Linked DNA regions of Homo sapiens: regions 1 and 3 are each linked to region 2. Evidence: promoter capture Hi-C in human tissues and cell types (Jung and others, 2019). All regions are on one chromosome and are shown on one strand. The core of a region is centred on a gene start or on the middle of the fragment in contact, and the rest is flanking DNA. Distances in the headings are between cores, read along the strand shown.

The links. The method cuts DNA at HindIII sites, captures the fragments that hold promoters and counts their contacts. A contact is called where the count stands out against the background at its distance.
Region 1: a fragment that was not itself captured here is called in contact with the fragment with the promoter of RORB in region 2 in 3 of the 25 tissues and cell types used here (H1 embryonic stem cells, dorsolateral prefrontal cortex and hippocampus).
Region 3: a fragment that was not itself captured here is called in contact with the fragment with the promoter of RORB in region 2 in 2 of the 25 tissues and cell types used here (hippocampus and thymus).

What each region holds. Positions count from the first base shown.
Region 1 is chr9:74,564,406-74,568,737 of GRCh38, forward strand. All of the region lies in intron 1 of RORB (RAR related orphan receptor B), which reads left to right. Among named protein-coding and RNA genes, the nearest start is that of RORB-AS1, 68 kb to the left of the region's middle. The HindIII fragment of the contact is 3,953 bases long and covers 893-4,332 here.
Region 2 is chr9:74,496,007-74,500,554 of GRCh38, forward strand. RORB (RAR related orphan receptor B) reads left to right here and starts at 1,329. Exons shown (of 10, transcript NM_006914.4): 1 at 1,329-1,977. The coding sequence starts at 1,971. It overlaps RORB-AS1 (RORB antisense RNA 1), which reads right to left and starts at 2,547. Exons shown (of 5, transcript NR_125791.1): 1 at 2,236-2,547. RefSeq lists silencers at 965-1,177, 1,173-1,362, 1,267-1,561 and enhancers at 3,231-4,007, 4,066-4,548. The HindIII fragment of the contact is 7,823 bases long and covers 1-4,548 here.
Region 3 is chr9:74,584,111-74,588,125 of GRCh38, forward strand. All of the region lies in intron 1 of RORB (RAR related orphan receptor B), which reads left to right. Among named protein-coding and RNA genes, the nearest start is that of RORB-AS1, 88 kb to the left of the region's middle. The HindIII fragment of the contact is 7,443 bases long and covers 1-4,015 here.

The DNA of each region.
Region 1 (4,332 bases), core at 1,619-4,118, 70 kb after region 2:
TTCCAAGAAAACCATTTTCTAGTGTAGTTTTCCCTTCTTGCATCTACTTCCTTGTGAGTTATGTAACCTGCAAATTACTGTAACTCGCAAGCCCACCATTTTCTCCCATTTGGGTAGATTGCTGAAAAGCATTGTACTTGTTTTGGCTGCTGTATCTCTTGGTTGCTCTGTTTTTCTTCCCCATTTGCATTTCTGCAGTCATTACTTTGTATAGCCGACTATGGTTCTTTGAATAGTCAGTAAATATGCAGCTGGTGAAAGGTAGGTAGAGTTAATGTAAACGTGGTTTTTATTTAAGTCTCCTTTTTAAAAAATATAGCATTCACTAGGATTCAAAAAAACTTAGAAATGAAAAAGAAGATTTTTAAAAAGAAAGACTAGGAGAAAGCACTGACAGGTTGAGATTTAATGGGATCTCAATTTCTCAGTTCTGGTATTTTTTTAAAAGGTGTAAAGAGGCCAGAAGCTTAGGCTTGGGTTGGTGGCATTGATAAAGTGTGGCTTTCTGATTGGCAGCAAACATTCAGAACATCTTTCTGCTTACAACTTCTCAGCATGAGTTGAGTAAATATTGGTTCACTGGCATTTTTGAGCAGTGGCAACTATCACAAAGAAGATCTCTTTACTGTAATGGGCACTTGTCAGACACAGAAAAAGAAAACAAGCATCTCTTTAAATTTCCTATTGTGTTGTTACATCTCTGTCAGTGGTGGTTCCTATTATGTGTTACTTGAATCTGGTATTCAGTAACTAATGACATGAATACCAGATATCAGAATAACTCTGAGCTAAAAACACCCAATCTTTGCAAAGACACACCACTCAGCAGAAAGGGTCCTGTGCAAAATTCCACTTATTCACAAATTTATACAAATAAAATTACTGTTTGAGAATTGCTAGAGAGAACCAACAGGTGGATTTCTAACTGTTTCTTCTTTGGTTTAACATCTAGTAACTTTGAGTAGGAGAACAATGAATCTTTGAGACATATTCACTTCAAAATCAATATGTTGAGTAACATCACATAAATGATGAGTTTCGTCACTGTTCATTGCCAGCTCTCATTTTTGCTGGCAAATATCAGCATCAAAATTTTCATAAGCATTCTGTACCTTAGAGATCAAAGTGGTTTTGTTTACTTTTAATTTGATAAGTAGACGTGTGACCCCTAAGTAGTTAAATTTATCAATTGTGAAGTTAAGATGAAAATTATTTATCTTTACATTTATTCAAAAAGTGAAATGTAAAAACTTGTCTTAATATCTTAGACCATGCCTTTCCCTAAAAAGCATCTTCTTTTTCATACATTTTTATTTAAGCTTTTCTGCTTGTGTGTTGGCAAAATAAATCTTTTTCAGGTTATATGTGATTATCCTACAGATATGCTGTTGAGTGAGATCTCCTACTTTCATCATCTATACTTAGACTTAAGTCAGAGTCCCCTTCATGTCTCTTACATGAATATCAGAATTGCCTAATTCGAATTAAAACTTCCCTGATTAATGACAAGTGCTCTTTGAACAAGATGTTCTGATGATCTCCAATCCTAAAATTCCTCATTCAATGGGTTGTGTAAAAATACTTCATACATTTCAGTATTGCTCTCAGGCACTGATGAAGTATTAATATGGGTGAAAAAGACCATAGTCATCAATGTATGTGCTACTTATTGAGGGCAATGGTAAATCTGCTTCCTTCCTCTGCTGTCCTTTACCAACCCCTGTCACCTCAAACGATGAAAGGAAGAGTGAGGAAATGATAAAATCCAAGACCAGGGAAATCCATTAGCCCAAATATGCTCTCCATTATTGCCTTTCATCAAAAGCTTTTACAGCAATTCATTTTTTTCTGGCTCTATGAAATCTAAACTTTTTAAGTTAGAATCTCAAAGTCATTCTGCTTCATAGAGTTGTTGGGAAGATACTAGATAATGCATATACATTTCTTCTCATGTTTTGAGAACATATTATTTATGTTATTTTCTATTATTTTGTTAGTTGTATTAGTTGTATTATTCTGTCTCTACTACTATCAACAGTTTTGTGTTTCCACAGTGGTTCTTTACATCTTCTTCTCCAAATCTTCATCTTTTATAAAATAAGCCCTTCCGGCCGGGCACAGTGGCTCACACCTGTAATCCCAAGACTTTGGGAAGCCGAGGTGGGTGGATCACCTGTGGTCAGGAGTTCGAGACTAGCCTGGCCAACATGGTGAAACCCCGTCTCTACTAAAAACACAAAAATTAGCTGGGTGTGGTGGCATGCACCTGTAGTCCCAGGTACTCGCAAGAGTGAGGCAAAAGAATCACTTGAATCCAGGAGGTGGAGGTTGCAGTGAGCTGAGATGGTGCCACTGCGCTCCAACCTGGAAACAGGGCGAGATTCCATCTCAAAAAAATAAATAAATAAAATAAAGAAGCAGGGTAAGATATAAGGCTGATAGCCCCAAATAAATCAGAGATGTCATTAGTATTTCAGTTATTCAGCCATACTGACGTTGTCATTTGTTTATGTGACTTTTCTTTCTATGTAGGAACCTAAAATAACCCAGAAGTTTCTGTGGGTTTTGGTTTTCCAAAAGCTGTTGCTTGCCTACCTCATTTGGGGCAACAAATGCCCACCCCACCCTTTTTTTTTTTCTGAGACAGAGGCTCGCTCTGTCGCCCAGGCTGGAGTGCAACGGCGTGATCTCGGCTCACTACAACCTCTGCCTCCCGGGTTCAAGGGATTCCCGTCTCAACCTCCCGACTACCTGGAAATACACGCACACACCACCACACCCGGCTAATTTTTTGTATTTTTAGTAGAGACGAGGTTTCACCATGTTGCCCAGGCTGGTCTTGAACTCCTGTTCTCAAGTGATCCACCCGCCTTGGCCTCCCAAAGTGCTGGAATTATGGGTGTGAGCCACCGCGTCTGGTCGGAATGCCCTCTACTTGAGAGGACCCTCTCTAGTCCCAGGAAAGCTGGATGGATTCCAAAGGAAGGAAACAGAGATTGACACAAGACAACATTGAATTGAACCTTCACATTTTCTTCTTGGTTGCTGAGCTCACATAACCAAGATAGGGAAAGGGATAGGAATTCAGAGTAGGTAATGGCAAGGACAGAAAAGTCAAGTTCCCCAATGTCACAGCTCTCAGAAACAGGAACATGATAAATGTAGGGGGAAATGAGGGTCTCCACTGAAACCATAGTTGTAATAGATCCTATGGTTTAATAGAAACCATAGTTTTAACAGGATCTATTAAATTGAATTTAATTCAGCACCACAGTCTCCCCTCATTCTGAGACTTTGTTCCCACTCGTAAGGAAAATGGTACCACTTATGAAAGATAAAGACTCAGCAGTCCCATTTTCAAAACTCTGAAGTATTCCTCTCTCTGAGCGAGTGGTTCCTTTCATTCGAAGGCATTGCATGTATGTGTGCTTTCTTTGGAATGGAAGTGCCATGAAAGAAAACACATTTTGACGAATTCCAGAGGAAGCATCAAGAACTGCCAGGTGACTTGTCATAGAGCTTTCAAGCCTAGTGTCATTTTATTTTTACAACCCAGGGTTTTAGCAACTCAAGAGGCTTTATATGTGTTCATTAACCGCAAATCTGTAATTTAAATGGACAAATTATCCTGGTTAATAATCTAACACATCATTCCCAATTCTTCCTGCTGTCAATATTCGAAACAGAGCTCAATATTCCAAATTTTTATAACACCTTTCACATGTTAAGTGGGTACAGTTTTGACACACAAGACAAAATAAAATAAAATTCCGTACTGGACAACACTCACAAAAGCTGCTTGATTCAGGTGAAAAGTATTTTGCTTCCATATTGGCCTAGAGCATCTATTTATGTATTTTTTTTTTTGAAAATAGAAACTCAAAAAAATTATTGTGATTTTTTTAGGTCATTATATAAGGGATAGAGAGAGGTCACCTAAAATGATGAAAATTAGCACAATAAATATGACTGTGAGAGCAGCAATCAATTCTTTTCTTAAGAAAATTAAACCGGAGCCGGGCACGGTGGCTCACGCCTGTAATCCCAGCACTTTGGGAGGCCGAGGTGGGTGGATAATGAGGTCAGGAGTTCAAGACCAGCCTGGCCAAGATGGTGAAACCCCGTCTCTACTAAAAATACAAAAATTAGCCAGGTGTGGTGGTGGGCACCTATAATCCCAGCTACTCGGGAGGCTGAGGCAGGAGAATCACTTGAACCCGGGAAGCAGAGGTTGAAGTGAGCCAAGGTCGCGCCATTGCACTCCAGCCTGGGCGACAAAGAAAGACTCCATCTCAAAAAAAAAAAAAAAGAAAAAAAGAAAATTAACTGGAA
Region 2 (4,548 bases), core at 79-2,578:
CATTTAATCAGGAAGGAAAAAACTACTTGGCAGTGTAGAGCGACCTAATTAACTAAATAACTGCCAATTCTACATTGTACTTTGTGTTACATGACATATCATGAATAAATACCAGTCAAAAATCAAATTATTTGGATACTTAAATGATGATGAGGCCTGCTGTGCCAACAGGTATGCTAATGAGTAGACATCTCCCAGCCTCAAGACTGAGTGAATGAGGCAAATATTTTCACCTCCCAATCTTTTAGGGTGTTCAATTAACTCAAGTATTTAAGAAGTTCCCTACTATTGGGAAGGAAGTAGATGTAATCATCTATATGCTTATTTTGTCAACTGAGTTGGAAAAACTTGCAAAGGAACAGTTTGGATATATGTATTAGATTTTTATCAAAATACAAATAAATGGTCATAGATGACAATTTTCACCTAAGGAATACAAGTAAGTTTATCTATGTTCAGTTACCAATCGCCTCTAACTAAAGTTAACAATGTCTTCCTTCTAAAACCTTTCTAAAGAGCACCCTGCAATCACACCTTCTAGCAACAGCCATTTCTCTTGAATTAGTAAGGTGGCTACACCGCCAATTTGAGCTGTTCTCCTTCAGTCCTGTAGTCCATCGCCAGGGGAGTCTCCAAATGCTAATAAAAATCAATTTCCCAGACAAAAGAACATATACACGTTTTTTTCTTTCTTTCTTTCTTTTTTTTTTTTTTTTAGAAGAGGGTCAGGGAGCATCTGACGGACGTTTTTAAAGGAAGGGGACAGCTACTTCCATGGGACTGCATTTTAGTTGTGCTAAAAGTGATGAAAGTGGGTTTGCATTATTCTACCACCAACACCCAAACCACCTGCCCACGGAAACCCCCGCCGGAGACCGAAGTTTACCCAAATAGCGCTCGGCAAAGCGCTGCCATAAATTCAAAACTAACTCTGCCGGGCCCGCGGGGGTTGCGAGACAGGGACCGAACGTGAAACCCGGGGAGCCCCGCGTCTCTTGCCTCCGAAGGTTTTCCGTGATCAGTGTCCCCTTCTCTGCTGGAGTCGGAAGTGCCTGTCACCTGCGGATCTGCCCGACTCTCCCGGTCGGCCCTTCTTCTCTGCCCAGTTCGGACAGTCTCGAATTCCCCGTCGCAGCCCCGGCCACCTCGGACTCCCTGGTCCCCAGCCCCCGCCCCACCCCCCGCCTCCACCACGTCCCCTCCCCGCGGTCCCAGCCTCTCCAGGCGCTGCTGGGCTCTGATTGGCGGCTGCGCTGACAGCAGGCGGGGCCTGGAAGTCGCGGCCAAGCCCGCCCTCGCGTATAAGCCCCTCTCAGCGCTCTCTCTCCATCTCTCCCCTCTCTTTCTCTCTCGCTGCTCCCTTCCTCCCTGTAACTGAACAGTGAAAATTCACATTGTGGATCCGCTAACAGGCACAGATGTCATGTGAAAACGCACATGCTCTGCCATCCACACCGCCTTTCTTTCTTTTCTTTCTGTTTCCTTTTTTCCCCCTTGTTCCTTCTCCCTCTTCTTTGTAACTAACAAAACCACCACCAACTCCTCCTCCTGCTGCTGCCCTTCCTCCTCCTCCTCAGTCCAAGTGATCACAAAAGAAATCTTCTGAGCCGGAGGCGGTGGCATTTTTTAAAAAGCAAGCACATTGGAGAGAAAGAAAAAGAAAAACAAAACCAAAACAAAACCCAGGCACCAGACAGCCAGAACATTTTTTTTTCACCCTTCCTGAAAACAAACAAACAAACAAACAATCATCAAAACAGTCACCACCAACATCAAAACTGTTAACATAGCGGCGGCGGCGGCAAACGTCACCCTGCAGCCACGGCGTCCGCCTAAAGGGATGGTTTTCTCGGCAGAGCAGCTCTTCGCCGACCACCTTCTTCACTCGTGCTGAGCGGGATTTTTGGGCTCTCCGGGGTTCGGGCTGGGAGCAGCTTCATGACTACGCGGAGCGGGAGAGCGGCCACACCATGCGAGGTAAGCGAGTCTGCGGGCACCGAGGCTCCCCGAGTCCGGCCAACTCCAGCCAGACGGGGAGATGGGGGAGGGGAGGGCACCCAGCAGAAAGGGAAAGAGGTTGCCCAGGCGCAGTTCCCCGAATTCGCTCTCGCAGGTGGGGCTGCAAATGGCCTGGGCGTAGAAAGTTGCGGGAAGGTGTTGATGTCTTTCGGGAGTTCTGGAGGGACGCGGGAGGGCGCTTTTTTGGAGAGGGGAGACAGGCTAGTTGGTTCTTACCAGTCCTTGAGTTGCACTGAATCTTTTTTGCTTGTCGCTCTCGGGTGCGGAAGCGGACGCGGGATGGAGAAAGCCGAAAGAGGGATGCCTCTGGACAGGAGCAGTTTGGAAGCGCCCGGCGCGCAGTGGTCGCCGGCCGGGTTTGGGCGCGCGGGGCGCACCGGCCGGGGGCAGGGTGGACACGCGCGGGCACACACTCGCCAGGTTACGAGGCCCACTAAGCGTCCTGGCCAGCAGGCATGTCCCTTCGCTGGAGTAGCAAGCAGAAGAGCAGTGCTGCGAGGCTGGACGCGGCTGAGGAAACAGTTAGTTCCCCGGCACGCGGCTGAGGAAACAGTTCTGCGGCGCGCGCCTTCGTGCCGGCGCTGCGCCCTGGCCAGGTCCTCGTGCCCGAGCCCGCGCGGCCCAGGGAGTAGTGCGACCCCGGAAAAGTTGTAATGAGAAAGTTCTGGAGGCTTGGAAAGGCCACACTGCTCACAGTCGGAGAGTCATGGGCTCCGGCTCTTTTGTCAGATAAAGGGCCGGTAGTGGAAGGAGGTGCTGGTGCACCCTCGGGCCAGGACCCTCGCAGTCGCAGGCGGTGGCGGCGGCGGCGGCGGGACCCCGGGGCGAGCTGGGGTCTGCAGGGATGCGCGCCAGGGACTGTAGCGTTACGCTTGCTCCGGCTGGACTCTGGGCCTCTCGAAGGGCTGGAGGGTGGGTTTCGGGGAGTCACTTGGTCTCCTCTCCTGCCTTGCCGGAGACCTCAGGTTTCCTTCGCGCTGTGCTCGGCCTTTCTTCACTCTTTTACTGAAGAGCCAGGCGGGTGTCCGCTTGACATGGGGATCTGTGCAAGCTCTGGGCACCCACCCCCACTCCCAGTCCCTCTTCCTGGCCACACAGCGGTTAATCGGGGGCTCTTCTCTATCCTTCGCACGTACCCCTGGGTCTTGACAACAGAAAGTTAGTAACGGCCAGCTCCAGACCTTCTTGCATCCCAGACCCGGAGAGAGGTGGTCTAGGCAGGGAGCACTTGGGAGAGTTGGGATGCAATCACTGGTCTCCTCCTTCCACTGAAAGTGATCCTCTCCCACCCAGTCCCCCTACGCCCCTAGAGGAGCACCCCAGGAGGCAGCGGGTCTCACTCCCACTCCCTCCCGCACCCGGTGAGCCCCGAGCCTGGACTCAAGGGTTTGCTGGCTGGACGCTGGGATGTGTCAGGAAAGGGAAGGAGAAGAAGGAACGGAGAGAGACTGTCCATGGGGGAGGGGGTTGACTGTAGATAAGAAACAAGGACGTCCTGATGGGATGGTCTTGATTGGCCGGCTCGCTGGGAGTGGGGCACCCGTGTGTGTGCGCGCTGGCTCCAGCTGATTGTCCCGGTTGGGGGTTGGTTACACGCTCCACTGTCTAAATTCTTTCAAGAAACTATACTTGGGCAATTGGAGAGTAGAGAACCTTGGCTTAGTAAGAGACGCCCGGTCTTTTGTTTTTCTTTTTCTAGCCCATCTCACCATCCCATCCATTCTTTCGGTTTCCCCCGTCCCAGTCCAGAGCTGCCAGTTCGTCCCTCCCCTTCTTCCCTTCTAACTTTCCCCCTGTGGCTGGGTTCATACTTTCTGAACGTCGTAAACTATGCGCCACCTCAGCTCGGACCCAGCACTAGGACCTAGGGCATAAAATCCGCTCACTCCTTACATCGTAGAAGGAGTGCGGCGCGGGGTGGGGATGGGTTGTAGCTTGATCTAGCATCTCCTGAAGGAGCAGTTTGCAGATGACTGTCCTGGTTCGCCACGGCGGTCGCTTTGAGGACTCCAGAAGCTGGAAGGATTGAAAGCCAGGCGCTGGTCCTCATGCTCACCTTGAGAAAACCAGTTTAAGCCCACAGACCTATCAAAGAGGGCGCCAGCCTCGCCAGGCGCCCTAGGACCCCTTACAACTTCTAACTTGAGGCAGCTCTCAGGCGGCCTTAGGGGAATGCGCTGGAGAAAATGTAAGCTTAAAAGATGACCAGGTCACTCTATCGCCATTCCTGGTTGCCCTTTCCTGACCCCTAGTGTCTTTCCTTACTACCTCTTCATATTTTCCCCGGACAGTGCCCTACCACAGTATGAGAGGCTGTTCCGTAAGAATGGGATTGAGAAAAGATCCAGGCTACTCTGACGTCTTGTGGAGTTGGGAGTTGAACTTGAGAGTGAACTTGAGAAGTGAAAGCGGGAAAAGAATCAGCTTTCGCTCGTGCAGGGCTACTAAGCACCCTATGTTGGGAGAGGGGCCATTTTTGACCTGGGCTTTACGGTGGGCCCACTGCATTTCCCTCATCCACACGCGCGC
Region 3 (4,015 bases), core at 126-2,625, 88 kb after region 2:
TAAAAAATATTAATATCATGAAATAGGCTATTACTGGTAGGCTCAGTGCAGCAAGTCATGCAGAATTTTATTGCTATTCCCTGTGCGGTCTTACCAATTATGTGGGTTTTGTTGTAGCTTTTTTAAATACCGCTATGTCATTACTGCGCATGTATAGATAGTATGATGGAGTGGTAGAGAGTTCCTTGGGAGCCAGTCTGTCTGGAGTTGTACTCGCTGCATAACCTTGGGCAAAATATTTATCCTCTCTATGCCTCTCAGTTTTCTTATGCAAAATGGGTATTATGATAGCATAATTACTTATAGGGTTGTTGTGAAGATTAAATGAGATAATAGATAAAACAGGACTTACTACAATGTTCAGCTTATAGTCAGTACTCATTTAAATGTTAGTTTCTTATTATTTCTGCAGGAAGTGTGGTATGCTTGGTTCTAAAGAGCAGTCTGGGACTTTCACCATGCCGTTTATTGCATCAGAAAGGTTATCTGTTGGTTCTCAGAGCCCAGAGTCTACTGATCTTCATTTCAGCCCAGTATCACAGAGGACAGAAAGCCATTAATGGAACACACCCAGCAAGACTTTAGTTTATTCTATTTGAAGTCATTGTTTGTTGGTATTGGAAATACATCATTGGTAATGGAGATAGTGGCTACTGTCATAGACCCTCAGACTCATGGAGCTATAGGAAAAAGGGAGGCAGGAGCCACAGAATGAGTCTGGGAGCTGCCTTTAGAGTGGATAGCCAGTTATGCTAATGAAAGCTTCTGGCACTAGGACTGGCTATCAATGGATGGGAAGTTGTGTTGTTGGATACAAAACAACGATGCAAAAACAAATGCTATGGAATGTGTTGAAAGTGATGATACACCCAGGGCTCAGGTGGACTGGGTCCCCATCCCCCGTCCAATCTCAGCCCTAATGCAGTGGTCCAGCCAGAGATCTTCAGGGTAATGGCAGAGCCACCCAACCTATACCCACACTAAGTATTGCCTTCAGACTAAATAACTATTATCTCAAATAGATAAATGCAGCCATTTTTCAAATGTGATGTTTTACTGAGTGCATCGATAGCATTTTATAATTGTTAATCCTCCCCATCAACAGCTTCCAAAAGTACGACTCAGGATGGGTCTGAAAACTTACCTGTTCCAAAGCAGGCCTTTTTATTCCAAATTTTGGGAACTACTCTCCCTAGCATAATCTCAAAATATATCAAGGACTGAAAGAGTAAAAATATATGAAAATACAAAAGCAAATGGAGTTCTCCAAAGGTTGAGTAACATATTCTATATAAAACCCCACACTTTTATTTTCTTTTAATGTAAGCAGGTGTCTGCTATCAGATTTTTCAACCAGGTCACAAATTATTCCGAAGTTGTCAAACTGAAAATGTAGTGCCTTTTGGTAATCTTGGTAAAGTCCTCTCCTCCTTCTGAATTCTGTGTTAGACAGAAGGCAGCTGATAGCTATAGTCTACCTTTTGCCTTGTCCTGACCATTAGATTATGAAGAACAGCCTCATTGGTACTATACCGTCAACTAGTCCCTTTTTTCTCCGCTATAAAAAGCTATTCACATGGTTTGTGCATATTACCACTCAATTCTAACCCTATGTAAGCTCATGAGCATTTAGATATTTTTTAAAAATCTACACAGCACTCTTTTCACAGGGGATATTTATTTATTTATTTATTTATTTATTGAGACGGATTCTCGCTCTGTCGCCCAGACTGGAGTGCAGTGGAGCGATCTCGGCTCACTGCAAGCTCCGCCTCCCGGGTTCACGCCATTCTCCTGCCTCAGCCTCCCGAGTAGCTGGGACTACAGGCGCGTGCCACCATGCCCGGCTAATTTTTTGTGTTTTTAGTAGAGACAGGGTTTCACCGTGTTAGCCAGGATGGTCTCAATCTCCTGACCTCGTGATCCGCCCGCCTCGACCTCCCAAAGTGCTGGGATTACAGGCATGAGCCACTGCGCCCAGCCTCACAGGACATATTTAAAGAGCATAAGATACTTATAAATTTACCAAAGTGTTAATGACCTACAGATGTTAATGGCATATAAAATCTAGAGTTAACAGATATATTGTAGAGAAGTGTATTTTGGGCCAGGTGCAGTCGCTCATGCCTGTAAACCCAGCACTTTGGGAGGCCAAAGCAGGTGGATCACTTGAGTCCAGGAGTTCAAGACCGGCCTTGGCAACATGGCAAAACCCTATCTCTACAAAATATACAAAAATTAGCCAGGCATGGTGGCACATCCCTGTAGTCCCAACAACTTGGGAGGCTGAGGCAGGAGAATCATTTGAGCCTGGGACATGGAGGTTGCAGTAAGCCTAGATGGTACCACTGCACTCCAGCCTGGGTGACAGAATGAGAACCTGTCTGAAAAGAAAAGAAAAAAGAGAGAAATATATTTTATTTATTTGTATTTGTATGGTTGTTTTGAAAACAATAAAATCGTATGCAAATGAGTACATATGTAATGTCCGTGTGTGTGTGTGTGTGTGTGTGTGTGTGTGTGTGTGTATTTTCAGATTATTTTATTCTGGGAATCATTGTTCCTACTTCTTATGCTACTCCACATGGACAAAGTTGGAATATTTTCTCTAAATGTGGCACATGTTTTTATTTGTGTTTTGCTCTGTATTTGAATGTAGAGTAGAACAGGGATTACCAGAGCATGTGCCAGTATCACTCAGGAGGTCAATGAGATTGAAGAAAGTTTTTAACTTTAGTTTAATCATACAATTAACAATGTAGCCTTCTCCTGTCCATGTCAATGTAGATGCATTGTTCAGTTTTTTTAACCTCATGCTCCATACTATGTCATATCTGATACCCAGTGAGCTCCTAACCAATCTGTCCACTCCCTTGGTACAGACATTAGCTGGTACTGCCTTACAGATCAGATTGTTTAACTTTGGATTTTAACTTTCTCCATCAACAAATTAAACAACTTCATCTAAACTGAGAGTAATACTATGAATGATATAAATACTTATGAATTAATAATGATCAAATAATTAAGGAGGTCCAGCCTAGTCAATCCACGGTGGTCTGAATCAACGGTTTCAGGATTTGAGCTTCCATTGGTCAGAGCTTTATTGCTCCCATCAGATAAGATTCATATTTTGTCTTTTCCTAACCGTCTCCCAGTGGAATATGCGAAATTCTTTATCAGAAGTTACTGTTATATGCAAACTTCTATCACCTCTAAAGATAAGAGGCATTGGATGGTTTTTATTTTGGGAACTATTTAAGAATTGCCAGACTCCACAGATTAACCTGGAATTTCCCTCTTGCCTATTTTATATATTGTTCTCTATGTTTTTCAGTCATAGCCTTACTGTCTCTTAAACTACCCCAAAACTTAGGAACCTGTAAAAACAAACATGTATTATTAATTGTGAGTCTGTGGGTCAACTGGGTGGTTCTTCTTGTCTGAGTCAGTTTAGCTGATCTCTGAGGTCAGCTGAGGACTCAGCTAGGGACGGATGATCCAGGATGGCCTTACCCACATGTTTGGGGTTGGGAGGATGGTTGGTCAAGGGAAGGGGGCCTCAGCTGGCATGACTTATCCTCCAGTAGGCTAGCCTGGGCTTTTTCACATGTGATCTTAGCATTCCAAAGAGCAACAAGTGATGGCAAGGCCCAATGTGTGCACACATGTCAATCTCTGCTACTCTCAGGATTGCTATTGTCCCATTGGCCAAAGTAAATCACATGGCCAATTTTAAAGGCAGAGTGGGAGGCACTACCGGAAAGTGTGGACACAGAGAAATGTGCAACATAGGGAGCCATTACTGCAATAATCTACCAGACTAAACTGGCATGAGTTTTGTCTGAAAAATCGTTCAAATATAAATGTGCATAATTTGTCACTAGATTTTGGTTATTGTTCCCCTTTCACACATGGCTCTTAGGTTATAGAATTCTATATTGCTCATAGGAGTTTTTTTAAACAGTAAGTTTTCTCTGCATTTAGAAGACAATTTTCAAAATATTTAATAAGG